7 separate regions of the Homo sapiens genome follow, and regions 1, 2, 3, 4, 5 and 6 are each linked to region 7. The links are contacts of gene promoters, found by promoter capture Hi-C in blood cells and fetal thymus (Javierre and others, 2016). All regions are on one chromosome and are shown on one strand. Each heading gives the region's core, a stretch centred on a gene start or on the middle of the fragment in contact. The rest is flanking DNA. Distances are from core to core; before and after follow the strand shown.

Region 1 (2,700 bases), core at 34-2,533, 1.6 Mb after region 7:
CAAGTGGAAACATTGGCACCCCCTTTAGCCTCTCTGGGAGAGTCATCTTCCCTGGCCCTAACACAAGTTCTCTGTACCCACACCTTTTTAAACTGAAACAGGTGTGGAACCAAGGTCTCCACTGGCCTCAGCCTGGCCCTCTGACCCTGCCCTGAGACTGGAGGCATTATGTACCTGTTAGAGTGGACATGGAGGCAGATTTTAATTTACATGGAACTGCTAGACACTGAGGCCCAAGCCACTGTAGTTCCTGGCCCTGAAGAATGGCATGAATTCCAGGTGGATTCTGGAATTTTGTAGGGTGGAGAATTAAGGAAATGCTAGGTAGGGAGGTGCTTTCTCACTTATGAGTGTGGCCATTTAGCAGCTATGACAGGCTGGTGGTTGGGTTTCCATTGGCTGAGCGTATTATAGGGATTGACCTAATGCAGTGCACAACTTCATGGTGCTTACTGGGCTATGCCCCAACTAAAAGAAACATTTTAGCCATCACAGTAAGGTAAGTCCAGAGGCAAGCACCACCATGTCACCCCAAACCTTAGAAGAGGGTACAATAAAGACAATATAATATCCCTGAGGGAAAGAAGGACATCACACTCCTCATCCAATATTCAGTTCAAGCAGAAGTGTGCGGGCAACCGGTTCCACTTTTAACAGTCTGGTTTAGCCTGTTAAGAAAGCCAGTGGAGCCTGGAGTCTGACAATTAACTATTGAGAGCTAAATGCTGTAGTAGACCTATTGACACTCGTGGCCCAGATATCACCACAGTAATTGAACACATCATGGAGGCTTCCAACCAATGGTATGATGCAGTTATTGATCTGGCTAATGGATTCTTCTCAATCCCTTTGAGGGATAAGGGCAGAGATCAATTTGTATTCACATGGCAAAGTATACAATATACATTTACAGTGCTGCCACAGGAGTATTTGAACTCACCTGCCATATGCCACCAGTGGGTAGGATGGGATTTCGCCACTGTGCTTTTGCCTAAAGTGGTCATGTGCATTCATTACATAGGTGACATCCTTATTGTGGCCCTTGATGATCCGATCACACAAGAGGCCTTGGACTTGATGGTCACAGGGACGTGACAAGCAGACTGGGAAGTTAACCCTAACAGTCCTGGGATCAGCCAAACTGGTGACCTTTTTAGGATCTACCTGGGCTAGAGCTCAGTACTAGATTCCAGATCTGCCCATCAAAATCTGTTACCATTAACTGGCCGACTATGAAAAAGGAGGCCCAACACCTGACTGGTGGACTTTTTGGGTATTGGAAACAACACATACCTTACCTGTTCATTCTGTTGGCTTCACTCCACCAGATACCTAGGAAAGCTGCTACTTTGCATTGAGGGCCCAGGGAGGATGAGGCACTCTAGGTTTTACAACAAGCCATTAGGCAGGCCATGGCCCTGGGGCAGTTAGAGCACACCTCTCCATTTGAATGACAAGTCTCTGTGTTAGGAAATGATGCAGACTGCAGCCTTTGGCAAAAAGAAGAGGCCACTGGGGTTTAAAGGCCTTTAGGGTTCTGGATTAACCACTCCCTACACCCCTTTTGAAAAGCAGTTTTTAGCTTATTGGACCTTAGTGGAAACTGAAAGGCTGACCCAGTACACTAAGGTTGTACTCCAACCACAAGTCCCCATCTTGTCCTGGGTTAACAGGCAGCCTAGATATTAGAACGGGGTTAGCCTAGCAAAGAGGCATCATCAGATGGAAGTAGTATATTCAAGACTGAGCCTGATTAGGAGAAGAGGTAGTAAGCAAGCTACAAGTAAAAATGGCCAGCTCTCTGGCAGGTGGAATGGTGCCTACACCACCTAGGAATCCCCATAGCCAAATGGGGACCATGATTACAGGATGCAGACTCTGACATCTTCTGCTAGTTCACAGATAGCTCAGCAAAGCTGAAGCCTTGAGGGGTAAAATGGGCTGCAGCCACTGTCAACATGAAAACAGGGGACATTATCACTGACAGTGGAGGAGGTCACAGTGCCCAATGGGCTGAGTTACTCACAGTTTGGCTGGCAGTGTTCTGGGGATGGGGAGTGAGGCACCAATCTGTCACTTTGTTCTTTCTGTGGAGCATGGCAGCAGAGGCCTGGAAGCATAATGCCTTTGTTAGCCTTTCTCAAGCTGTGCCCGCTGTGGGAAACCTGGTGAAAAGTTGGATTGCCATCCTGGACCTCAATCTGTGAACAACCAGAGTGACTCCATGTCCTGCCAGTGGTCAAGTATGCCAGCATTTCTAATGGCACAGTGTACACTAACAGAACTCCAACCCTGGCTTACCATGTGAGGATCTGATACCCATCACATTGGAGGGAGCTGAAGGTGCCCTGTTTTAGTTTAATTGGTTTAAGGTGGCAAAATATCACAACCACAAATAACAAAGCCATAGAGAGCTGGTATTTGGATGCACCACACTCCTTTCATTACTTGGATGAGAAGTGCCCTGCCAGTGATCCAGTTCCTCCCCTCTCCTTGTCTGTAGTTCTCAGAATACTGTAGGATGTGCTGGAAATGCAATATACTGAGATAGGGAAGAACTGTCCTGGACAGTGCTTACTTTGTTCCTGTCTCCTTTACAAGGATGTCCTTCAAACCTTTGCCCAGTGCATTCCATTGCTACTCAGGTATATAACCCACAGTGGGCTACCTTTCAGGGATTCTAGCTGCAGTATAGTGGGG
Region 2 (2,937 bases), core at 182-2,681, 1.6 Mb after region 7:
GTTCCTTCTGCCCCAAACAGCTTCCCCCAGGTAGCAATATACTCTCTCACCAGTTTATGCCAATGACAGTTCAATGAGACCTCATTTGTATGCCCTCCTTAAAAATGCAATCTCCAGCTCCCTATCCCCTTTCCTGCTGTATTTTTATCTAAACCACTTATCAAGGTGATGACATGTTATGGAATTTAATCCCACCTCAAAGTACCATAAGAACAGGAATTTTAGCAGGCTATTTTCAGCGTGTATTCTCAATGCTAATATATTGTCTCTCATATATTAAGTGCTCAATAAATGTTTTTTTGGTTAAGTAAGTTAATTTCCTTTAAGCTGGCTGATGGGGTCATATAGAGGTAAAATTACTGGCTCTGAGTGATTTTCCTCACTTATAAATATAATTTGCAGTAATTTCTATATTATTCTTTTCCTCTTAATGCATGGTGATAATTATTTCCCTGTTACATATGTCTTTTTTGTTTGTTTGTTTGTTTGTTTGAGACAGAGCCTCGCTCTGTTTCCCAGGCTGGAGTTCAGTGGCGCAGTCTTGGCTCACTGCAACCTCTGCCTCCCGGGTTCAAGTGATTCTCCTGCCTTAGCCTTCTGAGTAGCTGGGATTACAGGCATGTGCCACCATGCCCAGCTAATTTTTGTAATTTTAGTAGAGACGAGGTTTCACCATGTTGGCCAGGCTGGTCCTGAACTCCTGACCTCAAGTGATCTGCCCACCTCGGCCTCCCAAAGTACTGGGATTACGGGCATGAGCCACCATGCCTGTCCTACATATATCTTATTCATTGTCTTATTCAATCATACAACTTCCTGATAAAATGAGGCTGATTTTCACCCCTATTTTGCTGTTAAGGAAACTGGTATAATGAGTGTCACTGACTTGTTTGTGATCACACAGTGGACAAAATGGCATTTGTTTCTTTGTGGTGATCTCACAAAGGTCAAGATGACCTTAGATCCTCAGTTTTGGCTGTTTTTTTTTTGTTGTTTTTTTGTTTGTTTGTTTGTTTTACACCAAGGAACCAGGTTCTAGCTCCTATGTTTGTTCATTGCATGGAAAGGAACAGGAAGATCTGGGGGCCACTGAATGGAAGGTTAGATCCATTTTCTTGGTTAAGCTTGTAGGTTTTCTCGTCTCTTTTCCTTCCTGCAGCACAATTCTTATGAATGGCAATATCTTCTATTAAAATTCTCAGTCTGTAGTCTTCTTGTCCATACAGAAAATAGATTTCAGGTCAACACATTTGATAGTCTGGACTGTGCTAACTGCTCCAATATTTGAGTACATCTTTTGGGGATGTGGGAATTTAGTGTTGTAGGCCTCAAGTGGGGTTCGTTCCCAGAATTTGGAGAGGCTATAGAAATATAACCTGGTTGGCCAGGCACGGTGACTCATGCCTGTAACCCCATCAATGTGGGAGGCCGAGGCAGGTGGATCACCTGAGGTCAGGAGTTCGGGACCAGCCTGGCCAACATGGAGAAACCCTGTCTCTACTAAAAACTTTTAAAAAATTAGGCGGGCGTGGTGGTACGTGCCTGTAATCCCAGCTACTTGGGAGGCTGAAGTAGGAGAATCCCTTGAACCCGGGAGGTGGAGGTTGCAGTGAGCTGAGATCACACCATTGCACTCCAGGGCAACAGAGTGAGACTCCATCTCAAAAAAAAAAAAAAAAGAAAAAGAAATATAACCTGGCCATAATATAAGCATAAATAAAATAGATGACATTCTTTCAAAGCTTTTCTTAGCCTCTTATGTTTCTCAGATATTAAATAATCGGGCCAGGCACAGTGGCTCACGCCTGTAATCCTAGCACTTTGGGAGGCCGAGGCGGGCAGATTAACTGAGGTCAGGAGTTCAAGACCAGCCTGGCCAACATGGTGAAACTCCATCTCTACTAAAAACACAAAAAATTAGCCAGGTGCAGTGGCACGCGCCTGTAATCCCAGCTACTCGGGAGGCTGAGGCAGGAGAATCGCTTGAACCTGGGAGGTGGAGGTTGTGGTGAGCAGAGATCGTGCCACTGCACTCCAGCCTGGGCGACAGAACGAGACTTCATCTCAAATAAAAATTTAAAAAAAAAATAGTCAAATGCAAAATAAAGTAACATTCCAGCAATTTAATGACAGATATTGAAGCCACCTTTGCAAAATTATGACTGAGACAGAGAAAGAGATGGAATTTAACCAACTCCGTCTTGCTTCTAACCTCCAAGCCATCCTTGTTCATTCCTGGGTGTAGGCTGAACTAATTTAGGGAGAAACTTAGTTTGTAGTTTATAGTTTAAACAAAGATGGTAACAGCCCTTTCCCAAAGCAGACCTCCTTCTTGCCTTGGGACTGGATTGCCTTTGTAGGACTAACATTAGCCACAAGATTAAAAATTATGGCAGCTGGAGGCTACAAGATTCTAACCCTCCCTAACTGCTCCTAAGATCAGTGCTTGAGATATTTTGCAGACGCTGCACTCAAGATGGGTCAGATAGCACCACCCAGATCTATTAACTGGCTCATCTGATCCTGTAGCCCCCACCCAGGAACTGACTCAGCACAAGAAGAGAGCTTCAACTCCCTATGATTTAATCTCTGACCATTCAGCACTCCTGGCTCACTGGCTTCCCCCCATCCACCAAGTTATCCTTAAAAACTCTGCTCCCCAAATGCCCAGGGAAACTGATTTGAGTAATAAAACTCCAGTCTCCTGCACAGCCAGCTCTGTGTGAATTACTCTTTCTCTATTGCAATTCCCCTGTCTTGATGAATCAGCTCTGTCTAGGCAGCGGGCAAGGTTAACCCCTTGGGTGGTTACAATATGTACATGGGAAAGTGGTTGGCCTGCTTGGAATTGGAACAAAGGCAAACTAAGCATGATGATTATCAATGAGTTGCAGCCCAAAACCAACCAAGGAAGGACTATTAGTTCATGCTAGATTG
Region 3 (2,700 bases), core at 40-2,539, 1.7 Mb after region 7:
GACGACACACACACAGATAGCAAAGCAAAGCAGCAAAAGTTTAGTAAACAGAGTATTACACTCTCGGGGGTGGGAGAGAGCGGACTGACCTCTGCGAGGTGAGATCAGCGTCAGCTTGCTGTAGTTTGAGTCATTTTATGTGTGTGCGTGCGTGTGTGTATGTTTTCTGTTCCCAGTGCTGCCTAATCTATAGCCAGCATCTGCCCTTTTATTGATAGGTTTGTTGCTTACTTTGTCCTCTGTGGCTTGTGCCTCTATCTTATAATCTTAAATATATGCATGATATGTAGCCCATATGCATGAACCTTAAGTAGCTGATTATCATACGGGCTTTTGTTAAGGATACTTTTCCTCTCTAATACGCATGCCCATCTCTGAAGAGCTGCCTCTTAAACTGGTTTGTTCCAGATCTTGCCGGCCACGAGGTCCTTGCTCACATTATCTCTTTTGTTTCGGCTGCAAAAGGTTCACTGCTTGTTATCTCGCTTCTTGTTCACCCGCCCATCTACCTTACTTCTGCCCTTTGCTTTTACTTATTCTGCCCTCTAACTTTCAGCTCCCTTTGTTATTCTCTTGCCTCACTTTTCTTATTGTTTCAGCTGTATTGCAGGCGCGAGCTGCCGCGCCTAAATTTCTTGATGTACCGTAAACATTTCAATGTCTACTTTCTATCTCAAAACAATGTGGTGTAAAAGCCGTTTAGTTTTGCTTCATCTCCATACAGCATTCCAGTGCCATTGCAAAATGACTCGACTATCAGATAAAACTGAACACAGCTCTACTTGGTGAAAAAGTAGGTGGCTCTGAAAAGAACCTTTTTGGTTTGGACCGAGGTATGAGTAATGAACTGCTCCAGCCCCGCTACTTGCCCTTGGCCTTGTGGTGGCTCTCAGTTTTCTTAGGCAGCAGCACGGCCTGGATATTGGGCAGGACACCACCCTGGGCGATGGTCACTTTACCAAGCAGCTTGTTGAGCTCCTCGTCGTTGCGGATGGCCAGCTGCAAGTGGCGCGGGATGATGCGGGTCTTCTTGTTGTCGCGGGCCGCGTTGCCAGCCAGTTCCAGGATCTCGGCGGTTAGGTACTCCAACACCGCCGCCAGGTACACCGGCGCTCCGGCACCGACCCGCTCAGCGTAGTTGCCCTTGCGGAGCAGTCGGTGCACTCGGCCCACTGGGAACTGAAGACCCGCCCTTGAAGAACGGGTCTTAGCCTTGGCGCGAGCTTTGCCGCCCTGCTTGCCACGTCCCGACATGACGTAAAAAATTCAATCAGTAACGTTCCTGAGACTGACGTAACGCTAAAGCTCCGCTACTTATAGTCAACAGAGGCACGAAAACTAAGCTGTGCTATTGGCTAACATTACAGTTTCGCTTTAACCAATGGGATTGCGGTTTTGAAAAACACTTATTTTGATTGGACAAAGTTAATATACGTTTCCAGGACTCACCACTGGTTAAACGCACAACTTCATTCTCTACCCCACTTGCGTTAAGAAGCAGTGAATAAGCGGTAGGTTGACAGAGCTACCGTCTTCCTGTTTTTTTCCTCCAATTTTCCGGCAGTTACTCCCAGTCATGCCCGAGCCCTCAAAGTCCGCTCCTGCCCCGAAGAAAGGCTCCAAGAAGGCAGTGACAAAGGCCCAGAAGAAGGACGGCAAGAAGCGCAAGCGCAGCCGCAAGGAGAGCTACTCCGTGTACGTGTACAAGGTGCTGAAGCAGGTCCACCCCGACACCGGTATCTCGTCCAAGGCCATGGGCATCATGAACTCCTTCGTCAATGACATCTTCGAGCGCATCGCCGGCGAGGCTTCCCGCCTGGCGCATTACAACAAGCGCTCGACCATCACCTCCAGGGAGATCCAGACGGCCGTGCGCCTGCTGCTGCCAGGGGAGCTGGCCAAGCACGCGGTGTCGGAGGGCACCAAGGCCGTCACCAAGTACACCAGTTCCAAGTGAGCCCGCCCACCGCGGAACGTTCGGTCAGTCTCGGCCCACACCCCAAAGGCTCTTTTCAGAGCCACTCAGTCTTCCCAAAGAGAACTGGCACTCACTGTTCTTACAGCAGGTATTTCTTACTTGCTACAAAGACGATTTCCAAGATTCCTTTAGCCTTGTTAGAAACTAATTTTGGCTCAAGCCTCTAATCCCGGTTCGGGAAACCGAAGCGGGTGGCTCACCTGAGGTTAGAAGTTCGAGACGAGCCTAGCCAACATGGTGAAACCCGTCTCTACTAAAAGTACAAAAAAATAGCTGGGCGTGGTGGCGGACGCCTGTAATCCCAGCTACCCGGGAAGCTGAGGCAGGAGAATCGCTTGAACCCGGCAGATGGAGGTTGCAGTGAGCCGAGATCGGGCCATTGCACCCCAGCCTGGGCAGTAAGAGCGAAACTCTGTCTCAAAAAAGAAAGAAAAAGAAAAGAAATTAATTAGCACTGCAGTGTACTGCATGTTGCAGCAACGCTTGAGACAATTTTATATCTGAAGAAGGATGAGGTTTATCATCAGACAAACCTAGTAAAGGGAAAATTCAGTTCCTGTTGACCCCAAAGAAAATATAATACTTAAGTGTCACTGGTAAAATATCCACAGTGCTTCCGGCGCTCTGTCCCTAAACTTCATGTGTACTTTAGTAATGAAGCAGTTGGCACACACACAAACGTACAAATCGACTTGTTTGTTTTGAGAGTGGTGCTGTTTCTC
Region 4 (2,715 bases), core at 11-2,510, 1.7 Mb after region 7:
TAGAAACAAATTAAAGCTCAAAAGATTTTTTTAAAAAATTAGGCTGAGTGCGGTGGCTCATGCCTGTAATCCCAGAAATTTGGGAGGCCAAGGCAGGCAGATTACTTGAGGTGAGAAGTTTGAGACTATCCTGGCTAACATGGTGAAACCTCATCTCTACAAAAATACAAAGATTACCAGGGTGTGGTGGTATGCGCCTGTAATCCCAGCTTCTTGGGAGGCTGAGGCAGGAGAATTGCTTGAATCCAGGAGGCAGAGGTTGCAGTGCGCTGAGATCACACCACCGCACTCCAGCCTGGTGACAGAGCAAGACTACATCTAAAAGAAAAAAAAAAATTAGGAAAATACTATCCAGAAATCTTGGCAAAATTGTTTATGATTATTATTTTTGAGACAAGGTCTCACTCTGTTGCCCAGGCTGGAGTGCAGTGGCACAATCATGGCTCACTGCACCTTGGCTTCCCCAAGCTCAAACAATCCTCCCACCTCAGCCTCCTGGGTTGCTGGGACTACAGGCACAGGCCACCACCCTGGGCTAATCTTTGTATCTTTTTTGGTGGAGACAGTGTTTCACCATGTTGCCTAGGCTGTTCTCAAACTTCTGTGCTCAAGTGATCCTCCTGCCTTGGCCTTCCAAAATGTTGGAATTACAGGTGTGAGCCACTGTGCCCTGCCCCTATTTTTAATTTTTAATAGAACAAAACAGAATTTTGGGGTCGACACAATCTTTATATGTATGTACAGTCATTTTAGAAGAGATAAAATTCACATTTTGGTCACAGAATACTTAGCAAAACAATATTTAAAAGTTCTTTATTGAGTTGTTTTACCCATACACTAATTGATTTTACTTTCCCCATGCACTTGGAGAACTCTAACCCACTGTTATAGCCTATTGTGTAAGCCAATATTGGAGGTGTTGATGACTATATCTTGTTTTTACAAGTCATGTGGAGTGCAGACTGGGTTTCATTTTTTTTCCCCCTATAGTGCCTAGGTCAATGGTGACCCTACAAAATAAGGTGAATATAATGTGTCAATGTAATATAATGTACATCTTTATGAAGGAAATAAAAAAAATGGATATAAAAACAAAAAAAAAGCTTTAATTAATTAATTAATTAATTTTTGAGACAAAGTCTTGCTGTGTTGCCCAGGCTGGAGTGCAGTGGTATGATCTTGGCTCACTGCAACCTCCGCCTCCTGGGTTCAAGCAATTCTCTTGCCTCAGCTTCCCGAGTAGCTGAGATTACAGGTGCCTGCCACCATACCCAGCTAATTTTTTTTGTATTTTTAGTAGAGACAGGGTTTCACCATGTTGACCAGCCTGGTTTCAAACTCCTGACCTCAAGTGATCTGCCTGCCTCGACTTCCCAAACTGCTAGGATTACAGGCGTGAGCCACTGCACCTGGCCAAGAAGCTTAAATTTAAATGAGACAGAAATAGCACAGAGGCATTTGGGCTTTTGGGAAAAAAGTAGAGGCCGTTCAATGCAATGGGTACATTCAAGCTATGACTTGGAGGTTCATGGTCATGGTTGGGTGGATTCTACCTAGGAGTGCTATGTTTGTTAGTAACTTCACACTTAAATCCAAATGTCACAGCTGATTATTATTAAGCAAGGGTTAAATTCTTTGAAAAGAAAAAAAAATCTAGTTTTCTGTCTTTAGGCTTGTGAGTACTGTGAAGTGTCTCAAAAAGACTAATTCCTACAAGAAATGGTTATGGGCTTGGATTTATTGTGAGACAATAAAAGAGTAACATTCGAATAAGTTTTGAGTCTCACATTTTGAATAAAGGCAGGCACACTAGGCAAGGGGTAAGGGCCGATACTTAGGGTCTCCTTTTAGGGGAAGGATTCTCTGTCTCTTTTTTTTTTTTTTTTTTTTTTGAGATGGAATCTTGCTCTGTCAACCAGACTGGAGTGCAGTGGCATGATTTCGGCTCATTGCAAGCTCCACCTCCCGAGTTCACGCCATTCTCCTTCCTCAGCCTCCCGAGTAGCTGGGACTACAGGGGCCCGCCACCATGCCCGGCTAATTTTTTGTGTTTTTAGTAGAGATGGGGTTTCACCGTGTTAGTCAGGATGGTCTCAATCTCCTGACCTCGTGATCCACCCGCCTCGGCCTCCCAAAGTACTGGGATTACAGGCGTGAGCCACCGCGCCCAGCCAGGATTCTCTTTTTGGGTAGAGATTAGCTGTTTTTGAGTGAAGGGTGGCAAGACACACCACCCCAAAATATGCCACATTGACATAAAGAATATTTGAGTTGAGGGCAACTAAGAAGAAGCAGATACAAGAAAACTCTCTGCCCTCTCCCTATTTGCCTAAAAGCAGGACATAAATGTACGGAGGTGTCTCTCCTCCCCTCTCTACCAGAAAGGGCAAAAATTAATCACCAGAGACAACATCAGACTCTCATCAGCCTGGAGAGGGCACCAGAGCAATCTGCATAACAACTTTACTAACCAGCCTTTATCTACCATTAATTTCGTATATATTTGCCTTCCCACAATTTGTCACTCCTAAAAACTCAAAATCCTTTTCCTTTGTCTTCTAATTTCTCTAAAAACTTATTGATCTTATTAAAGATGCTGTATATAAACTGGAGTTTTAAGTCACATTTTTTAGTTACTCATTTCTGGGTACACTCACATGAGACATGTGCTGTACCCATGTTAATAAACTTGTTTGTTTTTCTCTTCTTAATCTG
Region 5 (2,770 bases), core at 78-2,577, 1.3 Mb after region 7:
ATTCACTTGTGAATTCCCACATACAAGTAAGAGATAAATAATATCAGTCTTTCAGAAAGCTATTCAGAGAACTGAAAAAGAGAAAACATTGTTCAGCTAATTTAACTACACAGACATAATTCTGATACCAAAACCCAGAAAGAGAGTACAAGAACAGAATATTACAAGCCAATATTTCTTTTAAACATAGACTCAAAACTTTTTACCAAAATATTAGCAAAGTAAATAAAGCATATTATTTTAAAAGTCAAAACATTATATTCAAATCAGATTTACTCTAGAAATGGAAATTTGGTTTAACTTTTTTTTTTTTTAAATTTATTTTTTTATTGATAATTCTTGGGTGTTTCTCACAGAGGGGGATTTGGCAGGGTCATGGGACAATAGTGGAGGGAAGGTCAGCAGATAAACAAGTGAACAAAGGTCTCTGGTTTTCCTAGGCAGAGGACCCTGCGGCCTTCCGCAGTGTTTGTGTCCCTGATTACTTGAGATTAGGGATTGGTGATGACTCTTAACGAGCATGCTGCCTTCAAGCATCTGTTTAACAAAGCACATCTTGCACCGCCCTTAATCCATTTAATCCTGAGTGGACACAGCACATGTTTCAGAGAGCACAGGGTTGAGGGTAAGGTCACAGATCAACAAGATCCCAAGGCAGAGGAATTTTTCTTAGTGCAGAACAAAATGAAAAGTCTCCCATGTCTACTTCTTTCTACACAGACACGGCAACCATCCGATTTCTCAATCTTTTCCCCACCTTTCCCGCCTTTCTATTCCACAAAGCCGCCATTGTCATCCTGGCCCGTTCTCAATGAGCTGTTGGGCACACCTCCCAGACGGGGTGGTGGCCGGGCAGAGGGGCTACTCACTTCCCAGTAGGGGCGGCCGGGCAGAGGCGCCCCTCACCTCCCGGACGGGGCGGCTGGCCGGGCAGGGGGGCTGACCCCCCCCACCTCCCTCCCGGAGGGGGCGGCTGGCCGGGCGGGGGGCTGACCCCCCCCACCTCCCTCCCGGACGGGGCGGCTGGCCGGGCAGAGGGGCTCCTCACTTCCCAGTAGGGGCGGCCGGGCAGAGGTGCCCCTCACCTCCCGGACGGGGCGGCTGGCCGGGCAGGGGGACTGACCCCCGCCACCTCCCTCCCGGACGGGGCGGCTGGCTGGGCGGGGGGCTGACCCCCCCACCTCCCTCCCGGACGGGGCGGCTGGCCGGGCGGGGGCTGACACCCCCACCTCCCTCCCGGACGGGGCGGCTGGCCGGGCGGGGGGCCGACCCCCCCACCTCCCTCCCGGACGGGGCGGCTGGCCGGGCAGAGGGGCTCCTCACTTCCCAGTAGGAGCGGCCGGGCAGAGGCGCCCCTCACCTCCCAGACGGGGCGGCTGGCCGGGCGGAGGGCTGACCCCCCCACCTCCCTCCCGGACAGGGCGGCTGGCCGGGCGGAGGGCTGACCCCCCCACCTCCCTCCCGGACGGGGCGGCTGGCCGGGCAGAGGGGCTCCTCACTTCCCAGTAGGGGCGGCCGGGCAGAGGCGCCCCTCACCTCCCAGACGGGGCGGCTGGCTGGGCGGAGGGCTGACCCCCCCACCTCCCTCCCGGACGGGGCGGCTGGCCGGGTGGGGGGGCTGACCCCCCCATCTCCCTCCCAGACGGGGTGGCTGGCCGGGCTGAGGGGCTCCTCACTTCCCAGTAGGGGCGGCCGGGCCGAGGCGCCCCTCACCTCCCGGACGGGGCGGCTGGCCGGGCGGGGGGCTGACCCCCCACCTCCCTCCCGGATGGGGCGGCTGGACGGGCGGGGGGCTGACCCCCCCCCACCTCCCTCCCGGACGGGGTGGCTGCCGGGCGGAGACGCTCCTCACTTCCCAGATGGGGTGGCTGCCGGGCGGAGGGGCTCCTCACTTTTCAGACGGGGTGGTTGCCAGGCAGAGGGTCTCCTCACTTCTCAGACGGGGCGGCCGGGCAGAGACGCTCCTCACCTCCCAGACGGGGTCTCGGCCGGGCAGAGGCGCTCCTCACATCCCAGATGGGGCGGCGGGGCAGAGGCGCTCCCCACATCTCAGACGATGGGCGGCCGGGCAGAGACGCTCCTCACTTCCTAGATGTGATGGCGGCTGGGAAGAGGCGCTCCTCACTTCCTAGATGGGATGGCGGCCGGGCGGAGACGTTCCTCACTTTCCAGACTGGGCAGCCAGGCAGAGGGGCTCCTCACATCCCAGACGATGGGCGGCCAGGCAGAGACACTCCTCACTTCCCAGACGGGGTGGCGGCCGGGCAGAGGCTGCAATCTCGGCACTTTGGGAGGCCAAGGCAGGCGGCTGGGAGGTGTAGGTTGTAGTGAGCCGAGATCACGCCACTGCACTCCAGCCTGGGCACCATTGAGCACTGAGTGAACGAGACTCCGTCTGCAATCCCGGCACCTTGGGAGGCCGAGGTTGGCGGATCACTCGCGGTTAGGGGCTGGAGACCGGCCCGGCCAACACAGCGAAACCCCGTCTCCACCAAAACCAGTCAGGCGTGGCGGCGCGTGCCTGCAATTGCAGGCATTCGGCAGACTGAGGCAGGAGAATCAGGCAGGGAGGTTGCAGTGAGCCGAGATGGCAGCAGTACAGTCCAGCTTCGGCTCCGCATGAGAGGGAGACCGTGGGGTGAGGGAGAGGGAGAGGGAGAGGGAGAGGGGTTTAACTTTTTAAAATGTAATTTGCCACATTAATAGAATAAATATAAAAACCAAATTTTCATCTTAGTAGACATAGACTAAGCATTTGATAAAATTCAAT
Region 6 (2,700 bases), core at 27-2,526, 1.0 Mb after region 7:
TGGGAGGCCGAGGCGGGCGGATCACGAGGTCAGGAGATCGAGACCATCCCGGCTAAAACGGTGAAACCCCGTCTCTACTAAAAATACAAAAAATTAGCCGGGCGTAGTGGCGGGCGCCTGTAGTCCCAGCTACTTGGGAGGCTGAGGCAGGAGAATGGCGTGAACCCGGGAGGCGGAGCTTGCAGTGAGCCGAGATTGCGCCACTGCACTCCAGCCTGGGCGACAGAGCGAGACTCCGTCTCAAAAAAAAAAAAAAAAAAGAAAAAGAAAAAAAGAAAAAAAAAAAGAAAGCGCAGGACAGAAAGAGCGAGGTGCTAAGACTTAGAGTGGACCCAGAGGCTCTGGCCCTCCTGTCTCCCACCACGCACTCCATTTTTGTCACATTTCAAACCTATCGCTTTTACGATATATGTTCAAAAATTGTTTAATGAACTGTAAATGGCTTGGTAAGGGCCGCATCGTAAATGGCTTGGTATGGGCCACATCGAGAACAGCTGTCAAATATAAGCCTAAGGCTAACCACGGATCTATTTTAACACTGAGCAGTTGTGGCTGAGTGTCTGGAGCTTGGCAGAAAGCAACGTCACAAGTCTGGCTTTTTCCCACGTAGACTGAACCCTCGCCCTCAAAGCTACAAACACAACAATTTAACCAACTGAGTGATCAACTAGGAGAAGAATCAATATGATCTCTTTCAAAAGCTTAAAATATGTCAAAATAGTATTATCTCAGAAAGTTTTTTTTTCCCAAAATAATACAAGACATTATCGAATTCTTATTTAACCCTTTTCTAAAATCACCCACCCACCTCATTGAATTTCCTTTAAAAAATCTTCATCCTGGCCGGGCGCGATGGCTCATGCCTGTAATCTCAGCACTTTGGGAGGCCAAGGCAGGCGGATCACCTGAGGTCAGGAGTTCAAGACTAGCCTGGCCAACATGGTGAAACTCCGTCTCTACTGAAAATACAAAAATTACCCAGGCATCGTGGCACACGCCTGTAATCCCAGCTACTTGGGAGGCTGAGGCAGAAGAATTGCTTAAACCTGGGAGGCGGAGGTTGCAGCGAGCCAAGATCGCGCCGCTGCACTCCAGCCTGGGCGTCAGAGCAAGACTCTGTCTCAAAAACAAACAAAACAAACAAATAAGAAAAACCTTTTCATCCTAACTCGTATATTATTTCTTCAAAAGAATAAAAAACGTGCAAATCTAATGCTTGTCTAGCTATTGCGACCACATTTACAAATGGATAGGCAGCGCTCCGGAGTTGGATGTAAGACGGTAGTATACAATCCAGGTGTGGTCGATTTAAGAAAAAAAAAAAAGAAAAAAGAAAAAAATTCCTGTCTAGCTAGTGCAACTACATTTATAAATGGATAGGCGAGGCTACGGAGTTCGATGTAAAACCGAAGTTTACAAGCGAGGTGTGGTCGGTGTAAAATAAAAACGAAAAAGAAGAAAAAAAAAAAAAACAAACCCACGGAAGTGGCCCGTACGGGGATCGAACCCGCGACCTTGGCGTTATTAGCACCACGCTCTAACCAACTGAGCTAACCGGCCTCCTTGGTGGGAGGGTCTTTTCTTATGTTTATTTAAATCATACCTGATCCATGCCCGCTGAATTTTTTTTTTTTTGTAATAGAAGCGTTACTTTCCCTTTTATTAATAAAATATATTTTTTTTTAAGAAAAGGAGAATTCCTCACTGTAGGCACAGGAAAACCATGCTGTTTCAGGGAAAACAATCTCAAACCACTGATTCTGACTGGAGAAAACTCAGATTCAACGACCCCAAGCAGGGCTTCCTTCCCCTCACCAGGTGAAGGACTCAGAACAAACCAAAAAGCAGCTCCAAGCTTGCGATCGCGGCCAGTTCCTCACGGAACCAACCGCAGAGCCGCCGCAGGTTCGCAGGATCGGAGGGTTCGGAGGACTCGGAGGGTGCGGATTCCTCTCTGCTCCTTGAGACCATTCCAGCCAGGTGGGCTCTTAGGCCTGGGAACCTGGGAAAGTGCACTGTCTCGCCTCCTGGCCTCGCGGTGGTTCCGCAGTCACCAGGACCCGAAATTCACAGCTGTGCGTCCTAAGCTTGCAGCTCCACAAACGATAAAATCAGACTTGGCCCTGCAGTGCCGGGCACCGGGCCCTTGGTGATGCTCGAGTGCCGGGCTGGCATCGGCGTAAATGAAAGGACCAGCGGGACGGCTCCTTTCAAGAGTCTCTGACTCCTTCCGTCCCGGGAAGACCAAGACACCCACATCTAAGACAAGGGAAGTCACCATTATCTACACCAATGATAAACGCCGGTATCTGGGAGGAACTGAGCCCAGGACCGGGTCAGGCAACTCAGAGTGTTGGGACAACTAAGTCCCTCTTCAAAGACTCAACTTTCTTGTCATAAGTTGCAAAAGTTGTACGTCAATCCTGCCTGCCCCCCGCCCCCCACCACACACATACACTCCTTTTTTTCGCAAATCCAGGGTTTACCCTATTTGCCAAAGTTTAAGTCTTAGCCAATCGGGATCAGCTTAGATTGTGCGGTCCAACCCCAGCCAATAGGGGAAGGACACAGAAACAGGAACTGCGTTAGGATTAAAAACTCCTTACCTCCTTTGTTTGGTGTGCTCTTGCAATTGTAACAGGCAAGGAGCACCCTTCTGCAGAAGTAAAGATGCCTTGCTGAGGAATTTTCTAAGTGAGG
Region 7 (2,831 bases), core at 217-2,716:
TACTTTTAGTAGATACAGGGTTTCACCGTGTTAGCCAGGATGGTCTTGATCTCCTGACCTCGTGATCCGCCCGTCTCGGCCTCCCAAAGTGCTGGGATTACAGGCGTGAGCCACCGCGCCCGGACCAGAAATAATTCTTTTGGTTGGGCTTTCATTGCCAGCTTACATACACTCTTCTTGATTGGGCAACTACCTAAAGAAATTCACTCAGACATTGTTCAAAGGATGTTTTCAGAGGGCAATGATTTATAATAGCTTAGATAGACTCTCAAAGCTCTACTTCTGAGATCGAAATTTGAACTTGTCGTTTAATCACTACATGTCACTTATTTTTCTTTCTATTGAGCTCTGGGAAGCATTGGAATACAATCTTCAGGGGGATTGAAACCATACGTGGTGAGTGGACTAGTCATTCCTCAACTATTCAGTAATAATAGGGGCTGGGTTTCACTAATAATGGGAGTAGATGTTTCAATCTACGTTTCTTATTTATTTTGCCTTATCATCAATGCTTGAATTTCAGCTCTAAGCTACTTTATTGCAATTTGGTTCTGAAGCATATGCCAAAAGCACTCAGCAAGGCTGCAGACAAATGCTTTAAAGTAAAGTGCACCTCCACTTCCAGTGACTTTATGAACATCACATTTGAAAATTAATCCTTTTTCATCTCTGTACCCTGAGTACATTTTGGACTTCCCTTCGTTCCCAAATACCCTGAATTCAAGGTATCTCAATCCATGGAGCAATTGTCCAGAGGAAGAGAGAAGCAACAGCCCCGCCCCCAACCCTTGGGAGCAGAAAGGGAAAGAATTATCCAAAGAATTGTTTAAAAACTCAGATGTAGCGGACAGATGTAAAACCATGGCTGTATAGATTGATGTCCCAGGGGTCCAAAACTTAATCTCAAATGGGCAATAATTTGTTTGGCATTAAACTAAACCAGTTTGATGAACTCAAATGCCCTCGGCTCAATAGGCAGGACTCTCCGAGGAGCCTGTGTTACTTCCCTCACTTAAGTGCAGATTTGTAATAAAAATCTTAATGCCAGTGGCATGCTTTTTGGATATATAAGAAGCTAACCACTTGGAGTATCATATTTGAGAGGTCAGAAAAGTCCACAGTTAAAGATCGGTTTATAATTTACGAAGAAAATAGAAAGTTTTGTTTCTCTGAGTTGAAATTTGCCAAGCACGGCGGGAAATATTGCAAGTTTTTGGCACAAGGCTTTGTGCTTCCCTTATAATTTGAGATCTGCGTGAAGCCTGAGGGTTCGGGGATCATTATCTGAGAAAAACCGGGCAGTTCGGTGTAGACAATTTTTATATTTTTGGCTTTTTTTGAGGTGTAACAAACACAACTCGGGATCCGAGAGGACACTCTGCGGCTGCCAGCGAGGCGGGCTGGACAGCGCACCAATCACGGCGCAGCTCCGCCCTATATAAACGGGCGGGCGCAGCGCCGCGGCTCGAGTCCCGGCCAGTGCCTCTGCTTCCGGCTCGAATTGCTCTCGCTCACGCTTGCCTTCAACATGTCCGAGACTGCGCCTGCCGCGCCCGCTGCTCCGGCCCCTGCCGAGAAGACTCCCGTGAAGAAGAAGGCCCGCAAGTCTGCAGGTGCGGCCAAGCGCAAAGCGTCTGGGCCCCCGGTGTCCGAGCTCATTACTAAAGCTGTTGCCGCCTCCAAGGAGCGCAGCGGCGTATCTTTGGCCGCTCTCAAGAAAGCGCTGGCAGCCGCTGGCTATGACGTGGAGAAGAACAACAGCCGCATCAAGCTGGGTCTCAAGAGCCTGGTGAGCAAGGGCACCCTGGTGCAGACCAAGGGCACCGGCGCGTCGGGTTCCTTCAAACTCAACAAGAAGGCGGCCTCTGGGGAAGCCAAGCCTAAGGCTAAAAAGGCAGGCGCGGCCAAGGCCAAGAAGCCAGCAGGAGCGGCGAAGAAGCCCAAGAAGGCGACGGGGGCGGCCACCCCCAAGAAGAGCGCCAAGAAGACCCCAAAGAAGGCGAAGAAGCCGGCTGCAGCTGCTGGAGCCAAAAAAGCGAAAAGCCCGAAAAAGGCGAAAGCAGCCAAGCCAAAAAAGGCGCCCAAGAGCCCAGCGAAGGCCAAAGCAGTTAAACCCAAGGCGGCTAAACCAAAGACCGCCAAGCCCAAGGCAGCCAAGCCAAAGAAGGCGGCAGCCAAGAAAAAGTAGAAAGTTCCTTTGGCCAACTGCTTAGAAGCCCAACACAACCCAAAGGCTCTTTTCAGAGCCACCCACCGCTCTCAGTAAAAGAGCTGTTGCACTATTAGGGGGCGTGGCTCGGGAAAACGCTGCTAAGCAGGGGCGGGTCTCCCGGGAACAAAGTCGGGGAGAGGAGTGGGATTTTGTGTGTCTCCGGAGCTATTTTTGACTAAGGCGTCGCGTCGCCCAAGCCGGAGTGCAGTGGCGTCATCTCGATTTTGCGTTCTCGAGTGTCGGAGTTGAACCCATTTGGGCCTCCCTTGTGCTTTGCACTTTTAGCAGGCCCTGGCCTCCAGATAGCATGGGAAAAAAAATGTTGGGATTTTCCCGGGTTTCTAAGCTGGGTTTTTCCGAGTTCCAAACACGGCACAGTGTATCAGTTTCTGTGCTGGTTACAAGCCTACTGGTTATCCCTATCGAGTATGGCAGGCAGTGAGGGACTTCAGAGGAGTACGTCTTAGGACAAGTGGCATAGTACTGACATTATTTCCGAAGGGCTACATTTCAAGTGCTTGGGGAGACTACTGCCACATAACTGAAAATTAGAAACCGACACTGCAGAAAAATACTTGGTCCTTAAATGTGGCATTTGGATGGATTAAGGACTTGCCGA

What was found. Contacts are between HindIII fragments. The CHiCAGO score rates a contact against its expected background, and 5 or more counts as called.
Region 1: a fragment that was not itself captured here is called in contact with the fragment with the promoter of H1-4 in region 7 in 1 of 17 cell types (neutrophils); the score reaches 5.7 in neutrophils.
Region 2: a fragment that was not itself captured here is called in contact with the fragment with the promoter of H1-4 in region 7 in 2 of 17 cell types (total B cells and neutrophils); the score reaches 6.1 in total B cells.
Region 3: a contact is called between the fragment with the promoter of H2AC15 here and the fragment with the promoter of H1-4 in region 7, in 5 of 17 cell types (monocytes, erythroblasts, M0 macrophages and 2 more). The highest score is 11.4, in monocytes.
Region 4: a contact is called between a fragment that was not itself captured here and the fragment with the promoter of H1-4 in region 7, in 1 of 17 cell types (fetal thymus). The highest score is 6.1, in fetal thymus.
Region 5: a contact is called between a fragment that was not itself captured here and the fragment with the promoter of H1-4 in region 7, in 1 of 17 cell types (neutrophils). The highest score is 5.1, in neutrophils.
Region 6: a fragment that was not itself captured here is called in contact with the fragment with the promoter of H1-4 in region 7 in 2 of 17 cell types (naive B cells and monocytes); the score reaches 5.2 in naive B cells.

Annotation. Positions count from the first base shown.
Region 1 is chr6:27,766,639-27,769,338 of GRCh38, forward strand. No RefSeq gene overlaps it. Among named protein-coding and RNA genes, the nearest start is that of TRV-AAC1-5, 15 kb to the left of the region's middle. The HindIII fragment of the contact is 3,636 bases long and covers 1-2,700 here.
Region 2 is chr6:27,798,399-27,801,335 of GRCh38, forward strand. No RefSeq gene overlaps it. Among named protein-coding and RNA genes, the nearest start is that of TRQ-TTG3-3, 3.9 kb to the left of the region's middle. The HindIII fragment of the contact is 618 bases long and covers 1,123-1,740 here.
Region 3 is chr6:27,837,086-27,839,785 of GRCh38, forward strand. It overlaps H2AC15 (H2A clustered histone 15), which reads right to left and starts at 1,290. Exons shown (of 1, transcript NM_003510.3): 1 at 795-1,290. The coding sequence starts at 1,254. The coding sequence ends at 862. It overlaps H2BC15 (H2B clustered histone 15), which reads left to right and starts at 1,484. Exons shown (of 1, transcript NM_003520.4): 1 at 1,484-2,025. The coding sequence starts at 1,577. The coding sequence ends at 1,957. RefSeq lists enhancers at 1-357, 446-535, 606-655, 926-1,035, 1,106-1,195 and 2 more. The HindIII fragment of the contact is 16,643 bases long and covers 1-2,700 here.
Region 4 is chr6:27,817,459-27,820,173 of GRCh38, forward strand. No RefSeq gene overlaps it. Among named protein-coding and RNA genes, the nearest start is that of H2BC14, 3.8 kb to the left of the region's middle. The HindIII fragment of the contact is 318 bases long and covers 1,102-1,419 here.
Region 5 is chr6:27,483,793-27,486,562 of GRCh38, forward strand. No RefSeq gene overlaps it. Among named protein-coding and RNA genes, the nearest start is that of TRD-GTC2-6, 5.5 kb to the left of the region's middle. The HindIII fragment of the contact is 4,863 bases long and covers 1-2,770 here.
Region 6 is chr6:27,175,729-27,178,428 of GRCh38, forward strand. TRI-AAT5-2 (tRNA-Ile (anticodon AAT) 5-2) reads right to left here and starts at 1,560; the gene lies at 1,487-1,560. RefSeq lists a cis regulatory region at 1,399-2,476, a silencer at 1,466-1,615 and enhancers at 1,818-2,017, 2,208-2,307, 2,658-2,700. The HindIII fragment of the contact is 1,154 bases long and covers 700-1,853 here.
Region 7 is chr6:26,154,863-26,157,693 of GRCh38, forward strand. H1-4 (H1.4 linker histone, cluster member) reads left to right here and starts at 1,467. Exons shown (of 1, transcript NM_005321.3): 1 at 1,467-2,253. The coding sequence starts at 1,529. The coding sequence ends at 2,188. RefSeq lists enhancers at 1,195-1,946, 1,471-1,630, 1,891-1,970, 2,700-2,831 and a silencer at 2,261-2,310. The HindIII fragment of the contact is 19,818 bases long and covers 1-2,831 here.